Linked DNA regions of Homo sapiens: region 1 is linked to region 2. The links are contacts of gene promoters, found by promoter capture Hi-C in human tissues and cell types (Jung and others, 2019). All regions are on one chromosome and are shown on one strand. Each heading gives the region's core, a stretch centred on a gene start or on the middle of the fragment in contact. The rest is flanking DNA. Distances are from core to core; before and after follow the strand shown.

Evidence for each region. Contacts are between HindIII fragments. The study calls those that stand out against the background at their distance.
Region 1: a fragment that was not itself captured here is called in contact with the fragment with the promoter of ZSCAN4 in region 2 in 1 of the 25 tissues and cell types used here (pancreas).

The regions. Positions count from the first base shown.
Region 1 is chr19:57,975,274-57,981,882 of GRCh38, forward strand. ZNF606 (zinc finger protein 606) reads right to left here. Exons shown (of 7, transcript NM_001348022.3): 7 at 1,803-5,006. The coding sequence ends at 3,028. Among named protein-coding and RNA genes, the nearest start is that of C19orf18, 4.0 kb to the left of the region's middle. The HindIII fragment of the contact is 3,581 bases long and covers 3,310-6,609 here.
Region 2 is chr19:57,664,578-57,670,924 of GRCh38, forward strand. It overlaps ZSCAN4 (zinc finger and SCAN domain containing 4), which reads left to right and starts at 4,358. Exons shown (of 5, transcript NM_152677.4): 1 at 4,358-4,626; 2 at 5,668-5,990. It also overlaps the pseudogene TPRG1LP1. The HindIII fragment of the contact is 8,369 bases long and covers 960-6,347 here.

The sequences.
Region 1 (6,609 bases), core at 3,850-6,349, 310 kb after region 2:
AAGCAGTCACCCTTAGAAGGGAGGCAATGTGCACAGGGGAGACCCACAGCAGGAAGGTAAAGGGGGACTCCTGATGACTGAAAGTGGGCCCTAGGCTTCAGAGATGGGAGGAATAGAAGACGGGCTCAAAAAAGGCAATGAACTATGTCATGTATGAGGGAGACAGAGGGGACCTGGGAGTGCTGGATGTTAGGGACCACTGAAATCAATACTGTCCAGGCTGTGCATGATAGGTGAGAGGAAGGGAATACTTCCAGGAAGAAGCAGAAGTCTGGGACTTTCTTTTGACTCGTGATGTGACCTGACCAACAGGAGGCCCTTTTTTTTTTTTTTTTTTTTTTTTGAGATGGAGTCTTGCCCTGTCACCCACACTGGAGTGCAGTGGCACAATCTTGGCTCACTGCAACCTCCACCTCCTGGGTTCAAACGATTCTCCTGCCTCAGCCTCTGGAACCGCTGGGATTACAGGCATCTGCCACCACACCCAGCTAATTTTTGTATTTTTAGTAGAGATGGGCTTTCACCATGTTGGCGGCCAGGCCAGTCTCGAACTCCTGATCTCATGATTCACCCACCTTGGCCTCCCAAAGTGCTGGGGTGACAGGAGTGAGCCACTGTGCCCTGCCAGGAGGCCCTTTAAGACATTAAAAAAACTCTTATCTGTTTAAACAGAGATGGGATCTTGCTACGTTGCAAGGCTGGCCTTGAACTCCTCAGCTCAAGCAATCCTCCTGTCCCTCCCAAAATGCTGGCATGAGCCTCGGTGCCCGGCCTAGAAATTTTTTCAAGATAATAATCTTAGTAATAAGGTTATAAGTTACCAGGATGCTTGTGGTATATTGCATATGACTTATGAAATCCTTTGGAATCTCTAAATCAGATAATTTGGATTCACTCTGGCTATTAGAATACAATATCCACATCCTACTGGTAGTATGATTCTGGATATATTATGCTGCTTTCTCCAAGATGAGATAATACTGCTAACTTCATTCTCTCCAAGGGCCTTTGCACAAATCATGTAAAAAAAAAATCCATCAATAACTAACTTGCCCCTGCCACATTTATCAGGTGACCACTAATGTGTCAGGCCTTGAAAGGACTACAATCAAATGTTACACACCTAAGTGAGCCCAAGCTAGAAGAGTCAGAAGGTGAAAATAACAGCCTCCCAATGACATCACTAGGCCATCATTTCTCAACCACTGGGAAGCCATGGGCCCTTTAAAAATTAGATGAGCTTTATGAGCCCAAGTTCCACTCAATACCCTTGAAGCCTATCCAGGAAGGATCCTTGGCCCCCAGTTTTAGAAATACTTATGAACTGGAGAGAAGCCACCCAAGTCTTCTGATCCATCTTTCCCCTTTTCCCCTGTGAACACTGAGACTTCATTACTCTAGGTGGACTGGCTAGCTCTCTTCCCTTCTGAATCCTGCTCCTTCAAGTAAGCCTTTCATCTGCAGAAGATTTCAAAAAAATAAAAGACCGAATTCAAGGTAAACCTTGGGTAATGGTGCTCTGAAGTGCAGTGGTGTCTAGTTATGGAAAGGAACAAACACCCCTGCCCTCTGCTCTGTAAGTGGCATTCTAAACCCACCAAGGGACTTGCCCAGTCCTCCAGCAAGTCCTCCAGGCCCTGCTGCCCTGTTATCCTTGGGGTTGCAGGCAGCAAAGTTCTAGGGAACTCAGGTCCCAGAAAATGCAGTGATTCTGAATGTCCAACACAGACTTCATATTCCAAAGGGATACTAGTTCTCATGTTACTATAAATCCTTCGAGACAGAGAAACCAGGTAACTTTATTTCTCATTGTTTAGGATTTTCTTTTTATTATCAAATCTCTGCTATAGAAACACTGAAGAAAATGGGAAAAAAAATCACTGGAGAGGCAGCATAAAATGGTGGCTGAAAACAAGAACTCTGGAGCCAATCTCAGCTCTACTCCCTTACTAGTTGTGCCCCTTAGGTAGGATCCTTCAACATCTCTGCTTCAGCTTAGCCATTTGTAAAACTGGGGTAACAGTACCTATCTCAGAGTAAAGGGGACTAAACAAGTTAACACTTGGAAAGCATTTAAAAGAAAGCCCAGCACATAAGTGTTATATGTATTTGTAAAACTTTTTAAAAATCTCAACTGGGTTAACTTTTCCATGGATCTTTCAGGTCCTTACCCATATACATTTTTTTAGATGTGTTACAGTAAGTATGTATATACAATTCTGTATCCTTTTTATTCCTTCATGTTATGTATACTGATGCAGTGTCCATAATTATAATTTATAGTGATTGCCTAAAACAAATTACAAACTAATTGCCCAACAATGCAGTGATGAGTAACAATGGACGCTGACACACTGGGCTAAGGATCACTTTCTGTCCAGCAACATCAGTCTCACACTCCTAGGCAATAACTTTTCTACCGTTAGTCATCTCATTCATTAATTTTCTCTAAGGAGGTTAATCAACAGTAAATACCCCATTCAATACTATTATTTTTCTTACATTCAGATTTAGCACTTCATATTCTACTCCTGGGCACCCAGACCCTCCCCTTATAACAACAAAATCTGTATTTCTACAATTATGCACAAAATGTTATTGTAGAGTTTTCCATCCAGTACTCCAGCTTGATGCAAAACAGTGTATTTCCAGTCAAAAACTTTTCTCTGCATAAGGTTTTTCCCTTAGCAATTCACACCAATCTACAATTGGTGAGAGCTCTTGCTAAAAGATGCCTCATTCCCCACAGTCATGGTCCTCAAGTATGAATTACTGGTAGACCATAAGGGGAGTTTAGAGTTTCCTTCATTGTTAATTATCTGATTTTGAGTAAGGGCTAAATAACTGCTGAAAGCTTTTCCCTATTCTTTTCCTTCATGGGGTTTCTTCTAAGATGATATTTTCTAGTAAATAATGTGGGAGAAGTCTTACTGAACTCTTAATGAAAAATGTCCCCTCTTGATTATGTTTATAGGGTTTTCCTCAATGTGTTGTCAAATGTACAAGAAACGAAAAACTCGCATAAATTCAATTCAGTTTCTCTTCACTGTGATTTCTCTGGTGTTGAAGTAGGGCTGAGTGACCACTAAAGGCTTTTCCACATTCACTGCATATAAAGCGTTTCTCTCCACTATGCATTCTCTGATGAATAATAAGGGAAGAATTCTTACAAAATGCTTTTTCACAATGATTACATTTGTAGGGCTTTTCTCCAGTATGGTTTCTTAGGTGTACAATAAGGGATGAACTCTCATTAAATGCTTTCCCACATTCATTACACCTGTATGGTTTCTCTCCAGTATGAGTTCTCCGGTGTGCAATGAGGTGAGAACTACAGTTAAAGGATCTTTCACACTGATTACATTTATAGGGTTTCTCACCAGTGTGAATTCTCCGATGAGCAACAAGGTGACAGCTCTGACTGAAGGATTTTCCACATTTATTGCATTCATAGGGTTTTTCTCCAGTATGAGTCCTTTGATGTCTAACAAGGTGAGCCATCTGGCTACAGGATTTTCCACATTTATTACATTCATAGGGCTTAATTCCAGAATGAATTATCTCATGTTTAGTGAGGGCTGAGCGTTCTCTGAATGCTTTGCCACATTCCTGACAGTTATATGGTTTCTCTCCCGTGTGAGTTCTCTGATGGGCAATAAGATGGGAGCTCCAGCTGAAGGATTTTCCACATTCAGTACATTTATATGGTTTTGCTCCAGAATGAGTTCTTTCATGTTTACTAAGGGCTGAGTAGTCCCTAAAAGCTTTTTCACATTCATCACATTTAAAGGGTTTCTCTCCAGTATGCATTCTCATATGGGCAATAAGATGGGAGCTCCAGCTGAATGATTTCCCACATTCAGTACATTCAAAAGGTTTCTCTCCTGTATGAGTCCTCTGATGTCCAATAAGATGAGAGTTCCAGTTGAAAGATTTCCCACACTCATTACAAACATAAGGTTTTTCTCCTGTATGAATTCTCTTATGTACAATAAGATGAGAATTCCAGCTGAAGGCTTTTCCACATTTATTACATTCATAGGGTTTTATTCCAGTGTGAGTCCGTTCATGTTTCGTAAGGGCTGAGCGATTCCTAAAAACTTTTCCACATTTATCACATTCATAGGGTTTTTCTCCAGTATGAGTTTTCTTATGTTGAATAAGGTAAGAGCTCCAGATGAAAGACGTCCCACATTCATTGTAGTCATAGGGTTTCTCTGCAGTGTAAGTGCTTGTATGTTGAGTAAGGAAAGAGTCATACCCAAAGACTTTCTCCCATTCATTGTATTTATACGCTTTCTCTACAGTACCAATTTTTTGATGTTCCATAAAGGATGAGAAATAAAAGATATTCTCATATTCTTTGTAATTATACTGGTTTTCTCCAACATGAAGCCTTGGGTGTTCATTAAATGATGGGCTCTGGTTAAAGATTTGATGGCATTCCTTATATTCATAGAGTTTTTCTCCTGTGTGAATTCCTTTATGATCACCAAAATGTATTATATGATTGAAAGATTTAACAGCATCAGTACATTTGAAAAGATTATCTCCAGTTTGTATTCTTGCAGGGTAAATAGGTTGAATGGACTGATAAACAGTTTTGTCATAATCATTATTTTCACAGGTAACCTTATCTGCATACATTATGGCTGAGTCACATCTCCAACTTTGAGCATGTGTATCAGGCTTATAGAAATGTTCTATCTGAGAAACTCTCTGAGATGGAACAAAGTTTAAGTTCTGGCTAAACTCTGCCCCAAGTCCACAGAATTCAGAGCTTCTCTGGGATAGTACTTGCTTTTGCATGAAGACCATCTGCCTCATAGCTGTACTCTGGTTCATGTGGTACATTTCTAATTGGTCTTTACATCCCAAAACTTCTAACCTGGAGAACCAAGGATCATCCCATATATATCTTTCCAACTTCATGCCATGGGATTGTTCTTCCTCAAAAATGCTCTGTGCTGGGATCAATGCTTTGCTTTCAAGATTTCTCACCCATTCTGAAACAGACAGAAAAAAAGCTATGAGAGCATAGAGAAAGACATTAGAATAAAGTGGGAATGGTGAGATTTACTGTCCATATTATCAAAAACACTAGTATAAATTTGTTTTCAAGTCCAGGCTTAGAACTCAGAGAAAGATCATAATAGGGAAAAGAATAGTGAAAAGTAAACAACAGTTAACCAGAATACAAAGTGTGTACTGAAAACTAATGAAACCATTTAAAAGTACTTTCCATGAAAAGGAAGACCAGTATAAGAATGTGCAAGAAAGAGGCCGGACGAGGTGGCTACGCCTGTAATCCCAGCACTTTGGGAGGCCGAGGCGGGCGGATCATGAGGTCAGGAGATCAAGACCATCCTGGCTAACACAGTGAAACCCTGTCTCTACTAAAAATACAAAAAATTAGCCAGGTGTGGTGGCGGGTGCCTGTAGTCCCAGCTGCTCAGGAGGCTGAGGCAGGAGAATGGCATGAACCCGGGAGGCAGAGCTTGCAGTGAGCCAAGATCGCGCCACTGCACTTCAGCCTGAGCGACAGAGCGATACACCGTCTCAAAAAAAAAAAAAAAAAAAATGTGCAAGAAAGAGTTAACTCTGCAGGCCTGACGTGCTCAAACCTTGCAAAGGTAGCCTGTTTCCTAACTGGCCCTTAGCCAACTCCTAGGAATTAAGATCTTGGAATGTTCTAACTAGTAAGAGTGTTTTGCATGCTCAAGGTATTGAAGCACATTTACTTTTAACTTATTTAGATATGTGTGCAAACAATGTCATTCATAGTGATCACCTGCTTTCCCTCAGGGTGGTCTGGAGTTTCAGCGATGGCAGTGAGTCACGCAGGCACTGTGTGCCTGGATGAGCAACCTCTCAATAAACACACTGGACTCCTAGACTCAGGCAAGTTTCCTAGTAGAAATTTCGCACGTGTTGTCACAACTCCTTGCTTGAGGAATTAAGTGTGCCCCATGTACGCTACTGGAAGCTTGCACCTGGTCTAACCTCATGCACCTTTTTCCTTTGCTGATGTTGCTTTGTATCCTTTCACTGTAATACACCATAATCCTGAGTATAATGACTTTTGAGTCCTATAAGTACTCATAGTGAATCAGTGAACCTGGAGGTGGTCTTGAAGACCCCTGACAAAAGGACCCAGTGAATGTTATTAAGGTTAAAAAAGAAAAAAAAAGAATAAAGCCTTTCATCTTAACAAAAGTTAGGTAGATGAGCACACAAGGCCTTTAGCAAGTAATATTTACATCATGAGTGCTCTCACTTCTGTGTTATAATGTCCTTCTACTCCCATATCTTGACAAGTGCAGAAAAAAGGAGGAGAGGGGTGTTTAGAGAGTATCACCAAGCGAGGCTTCAAGCCAGGATGTTATCTATGACAAAATGCTTTGTTTCCTATGTCACAGAATCCAGTCAATCACACAAGATCCACCAACCCAAAGGGCAAACATCACCAGAGTTTATGGATACCCCTAAAGTTACACTTCTATCCACCACAGAATATTTTTAGAGCAATGATAGATGGACTAGGAAGACAGCATAGTGTGAAAAAACAGACACAGGAGTTACAGTCTGCTAATCTGTATGTGAACAATG
Region 2 (6,347 bases), core at 3,108-5,607:
CAGGGAGCGCTCAGCGGTAAAGACGGCTTCATCTGACTCCAGGGCTGGCAGGCGGCCCGGATGGCATGCCGTCTCCTGCGGAGAATTCCAATTTCCCCCTAAATCGCTCAACAAGCGAGAAGGTTTTGGGATTCGAATTCAGTGGGGCAAGCGAAGTCGCCTTTCCTTCTTAAACAGATGGAATCCCTGGTCCACAAACGTACCCTGTGCCAATTTCATACAACACGCTATGGCTGCTGCGGATGAGAACACAGCAACTCTGCCAGATGAAAAGCTTCAAGGCTCTGTGAATCCAAGGTCAAAAACGCCAAAAAGGAAAGTCCTTTTCCAGGACAAGCGCACGCGTGCTGGTCGTGGAGCGCCCCCTCCTCATGGAGACCGGCCTGGGATTGATGTCCTTCATTAACAATGAGGCTAAACTGGGCTATTCCATGACTGACCAGGGGCAAAATAGGCTTTTAGCCAGCGGCATTCTGGGAGCTCTCCCCACTAAGAAGGCCAAGGGATGTGGGGTCTGAGAGCCTGGCAGTCCTCATGCAAAGCCGCTGCTGGCTGGAAGCATAGGGGTCTTTTACCTTTTGGGATCTCTGCACGATTAGAATAGTAAAGTGGATAGTAATTGCATATTGCACTCTGCTAATGCAAGCTACAGACAAAAGCAAAAAGAATCTAGCTGCCACTGTGCTGCTAGGATTCCATTTTCTGTAACTTCAGTTCTGATACTTTTCCTGGAGTGTATCTACTTGGCTTCTGGCGGTTCTTCCCATCCCAGCCACTCCAGCAGGCTAAATCCCGCAGCACACCCCTTACCATTTGTGTAGGCTGCTAAATACAGGGAGGCACCTGGTATCTCCAGTGTCTGCAGACACAAATATGTTTACACTTGGTGTCAAATTTTGTATTTTAAATTTTAATACTTTTTTTTTTAAAGCTCATACAAAAGCAGCCAGCAGACAAGTTCACTGACATCAGTCTGCACCTGTCAGCTCCTGGGTGAATCATTGTTCTTTTGTAAATGTGTGTTTGACCTAAAGTCACCCTTTTTCTAAAATTAATCCAAGGCCGGGCGCGGTGGCTCACTCCTGTAATCCCAACACTTTGGGAGGCTGAGGCGGGTGGATCACCAGATCAGGAGTTCGAGACCAGCCTGACCAAAATGGAGAAACCCCATCTCTACTAAAAATACAAAATAAGCTGGGCAGCCCACGTCAGTAATCCCAGCTACTCCGGAGGCTGAGGCAGGAGAATTGCTTGAACCCGGGAGGTGGAGGTTGTGGTAAACCGAGATCGTGCCACTGCACTCCAGCCTGGGCAACAAGAGTGAAACTCCGTCTCAATAATAATACTGATACTTAAAATATCTTTGCGAGGCCCAAGTAGGTTTACAGAAAATCATCTTAGGACAATTTTTTAATTTGAGAAAGTCACTTTGGCAGTTCTTTGCACACAATTTTGACAAGTGTATGTATTATAAGTTGTATTGTATTCATATTTAAAAGGAAATTGGGTAGTTTGCCTTTTGAAGAATGCGCTTTTTAAAAAGGAACCATATCAGATCCTTATGAAGCAGCCGATGCCTGCCATGGTTCCTACAGGTCCTGTACAGACTCGGGGCTTTGTCCAAGTCTCCACTAAACATGCTAAGCTTCGATGCGCCCTGGAGAATTTCCACGGGGTGATCCACGCACCTCCATGAGATCCTGCAGCTTGCTTGTATGACTGGAAGCATTGGATAAGCTTCGCGTGCTGGCTCTCCAGTTCTTTCCTTCTCTTTACGACTGTTGTAGCTTTTAGCTAATGGAGTGGTGCGGTCCAAGTGCGGCCACCTACGGGAGGTGCAGGGCTGCCTCGGAAGCTGGCAGGGGACCCCAGTCTTTGCGTTCATAAAGACATTTAGAACCGGATGAATGTTGTTCCTTTTTTGAAGTTGTTATTAAAGTAGGTGCAACAACCAAAAATCAATAAATAATAAATAAATTGACTAAATATTTTTTCTCAAAAAAAAAAAAAAAAGAAAAGAAAGTCACCAGGTGTGGTGGCTCACGCCTGTAATCCCAGCACCTGGGGAGGCTGAGGTGGGCGGATCACCTGAGATCAGGAGTTTGAGACTATCCTGGCCAACATGGTGAAACCCCGTCTCTACTAAAATACAAAAATTAGCCGGGTGTGGTGGCGCATGCCTTTAATCACAGCTACTCTGGGTGCGGAAGTTGCAGTGAGCCAAGATCGTGCCACTGCACTCCAGCCTGGGCGACAGAGCAAGACTTTGTCTCGAAAAAAATAGAAAGTTAACAGTTTTGTTTATTTTCCTACCAGGTTTTTATTATTATTATTATTATTCTAATTGAAATCACTGTTTCCTACATACTGAGGCGGATTGGCTTTGTCTTCTTGGAAACAAAGGTTATTTTCCTCACTCACACTGGAGCGGGGATACTCACCAGACACAAGTTGAGATGATGCTGGATGTAAACGGGTCATCTATTTTTACCAAAGGCAGCACTACCTGCCTTCCCAATTGATCAGAAAAGCATTTGATAGTTGTCTTTGTAATATCCTTATTTGATTAAATTACTATGTGGATTTCACATTTATTTTTATTGTTTTGTGCCTGTTTATTCTATGCCTAAGTTGGGGTATCACCAGGTCATTTCCTCCACCATCTGTGTTTCCCCAAGGATAAATCCTCCTGCTCATGCCCTTCACTCCTCCATTAGCCCATTCCCTAGAAAGCTGCTGGTTTTACACAGTGGCTGTGTGTCTTTGCCTTCTTAATGTAGCATTCAGAGTCCCACTCTGGAGCCAGGTATCAAATCCTAGCCCAGCCACTTACAGGCTATGTAGCACTGGCCAAGGTACTGAACTTCTCTGTGCCTCTGTTATTTTGATGTTAAAATGGAGTTATTTAGGATCTACTTTACAGGACTGTTGTGATGGAAATGGGTTAACATACAGAAAGCACTGAGAACAGAGTCAAATATGCCCTGACTGCTTAAAGGTTAGTTATTATGATCCCTGATGCTATTACTACTCTTACTGATATCATCGTGCCTCAGGTCTAACTGCTCCCAGAGTTACACACCAGCATGTCCAACAGCTGGCTGTATATCTGAACTCAAAAATCCAATAACCTCCTCCAAACAGAAATTGCCAGCTTTTCCCCAAACCTTTTCCTTACAGCTCCTTACAGAGCTCAAGGAACTCCTTGAGACTGCAGAAGCAGACAGGAAATGCTTTCAACCCACCACAAATTAACAACTGGCCTCCAGTGGTACTCACATTGTCTACATTTTTCATTGTTTTTTTTTTGTTTGTTTTTTGTTTGTTTGTTTGTTTGTTTTTGAGACAGAGTCTCACTCTGTCGCCCAGGCTGGAGAGCAGTGGTGCGATCTTGGCTCACTGCAACCTCGGCCTCCCAGGTTCAAGTGATTCTCCTGCCTCAGGCTCCCGAGTACTTGGGATTACAGGTGCCTGCCACCATGCCTGGCTAATTTTTGTATTTTTTTAGTAGAGACGAGGTTTCATCATGTTGGCCAGGCTGGTCTCAAACTCCTGACCTCAGGTGATCCACCCGCCTCGGCCTCCCAAAGTGCTGGGATTACAGGCATGAGCCACTGCGCCCAGCCCATTTTTCATTGTTGTAGCAGAGAAGTATCCCTGCTTCCATCAAGAGCCAATTTTCCTGTCACAGTTGGTTTAATGACATAGTTGGTGACAGGACCTAAACCACCAGTGGAAAATTGGCTCTTGATGGGAGCAGGGATACTTCTCTGTATGGAGTATATGTGGATGAAACTCCTTGGAGAAATGGACTAGTACACAGTCTTATAATGTGAGGATTCAGAACATAATTCCTAATGTGGGGAAGTCAAGCAGACATTTCATCAGTGGAGTACCAGGAGATTCAAACTCTGTACCCAACAGTGATAGGGGGACAATCTAAGCCCCAAGAGGCTGCATGCCTGATGGAGCAGATGAAACACATGGCTGTAATTAGCTCCCACCCCTTCGATACGTTCTCAACTCCACCAAAGCCTCAGCCTGTATGAGGGTGGAAAGTGGGGAGGGAGAGTGCAGGGAAGAAGGCACAGCTTCCACCACACTAGGTGACCAGGCGCTTCTCACCATTTTAACTCCTCCATCTCTCTCAAGCCTCATGTTAAGTCTATCAAACATCATATGCTTTCTCAATATAAAATATGCACCAATTTCTCCCTTTCCACTGATATAATCCTAGTCTCAACCCCTGTCATCTTTTTGATGGATTAGGAATGCCTTCTCTGGGTCCCGGGCCCCCTCTGTTTCACCAGCCTGGAATTGGCACAGGAGTCACAGCATTAGCCTTGCCCTCTGCCACCCTTGTAATTCATAAATCTCTGAAAACTTAAAAGTTTGAGCAAAAGTTTGTCATGTTTCTATGAGTAATTTATAATAAAACTTGATCAGAATTTGTGAGACTAACGTTTGTCTTTATATTTTCCTTTTTTTTTTTTTTTTTTTTGAGACACAGTCTCGCTCTGTCGTCCAGGCTGGAGTGCCGTGGCGTAATCTCGGCTCACTGCAACCTCTGCCTCCTGGATTCAAACAATTCTTCTGCCTCAGCCTCCTGAGTAGCTGGGATTACAGGTGCATGCTACCACGCCCAGATAATTTTTGTATTTTTAATAGAAACCGGGTTTAACCATGTTGGTCAGGCTGGTCTCAAACTCCTGACCTCATGATCCACCTGCCTCGGCCTCCCAAAGTGCTGGGATTACAGGCGCGAGCCACCACACCCAGCCTGTCTTTATATTTTCATTTAATGTGGACCTTGTTACATTTTACCGCAGATTTTGTATTTTTGTGTGTGTTTGTTTGTTTGTTGGTTTTTGAGACAGTCTACCTCTGTCGCCCAGGCTGCAGTGCAGTGGCACAATTTCAGCTCACTGCAACCTCCGCCTCTGTGGTTCAAACAATTCTTCTGCTCAGCCTCCTGAATAGCTGGGACTACAGGCACGCGCCACTACGCCTGGCTAATTTTTGCATTTTTAGTAGAGATGGGGTTTCACCATATTGGCCAGGCTGGTCTCGAACTCTTGACCTCGTGATCCGCCCACCTCGGCCTCCAAAAGTGCTGGGATTACAGGCATGGTTTTTTTTTTGTTCGTTTTGTTTTGTTTTTTTTTTAGAGACTTGGTCTCCTTCCATTTCCCAGGCCAGAGTTCAGTAGGGCGGTCATAATCCACTGTAGCCATGAACTCCCTGGCTCAAACAAGCTACACAGACATGCCACCATGCCTGGCTAACATTTTTAACATTATTTTTGGTAGAGACAGGGTCTTGCTTTGTTGCTCAGGCTAGGGATTCACAGAGTCTTGCTCTGTCTCCCAGGCTGGAATGCAGTGGCGCAATCTTGGCTCACTCTAGCCTCTGCCTCCCAGGTTCAAGTAATTCTCCTGCCTCAGCCTCCCAAGTAGCTGGGATTACAGGTGCCCACCACCATGCCCGGCTAATTTTTGTATTTTTAGTAGAGAAAGGGTTTCACCATGTTGGCCAGGCTGGTCTTGAACTCCTGATCTCAGGTGATCTGCCTGCCTCAGCCTCCCAAAGTGCTGAGATTACAGGTGTGAGCCACTGCACCTAGCCTGCAGAAATATTAATGTGTTTGTTTATGACCTGTTGACCCAGGACCAGTGATGGTATAGAACACTGTATTAGAGACATGGAGCTGGGGCTGGATGAAGATTCCATCAGTAATTCAATCAACAGACAAGTGTTATCCAATCACGTCTTTAAATCAATCACTGACATGGAGCTGGGGCTGGATGAAGATTCCATCAGTAATTCAATCAACAGACAAGTGTTATCCAATCACGTCTTTAAATCAATCACTGATCCCAGCCCCTATAAAAGGGAGCAGCCTTAGGAGGCACATCAGATAAACCCAGTGTGGAAAGCTAGTCACACATCAGCTCAGTGTTCGGCCCGGGATTACCCAGTCAACCAAGGAGGTAAGCTTCCATAATGGAAGGAAAATTTTGTGCCTTTGAGTGTGTATACATTTTGTGTCTTTGAGTGTGTATACATAATTTTGTGTCTTTGAGTGTGTATACATGTGTATGTAGGCATAGCTATTTCAGGAAAATTCCTAACTACAGAGATATGGGGGTCTCCCAGGTGTAGGGAATGGTCTTTTGTTACAACAGCTCTGACCCAAAAGGGCTTGATGTTGTGAACTCTGTATAAAGGCCTGGTGTGACTGAAGATTTTTCTTCAAAAAGTCTATCGTATGACTTTATGTTCTAGTAATTCTTTTTTTTTTTTCGAGACAAGATCTCTATCACCCAGGCTAAAGTTTAGTAGCCCCA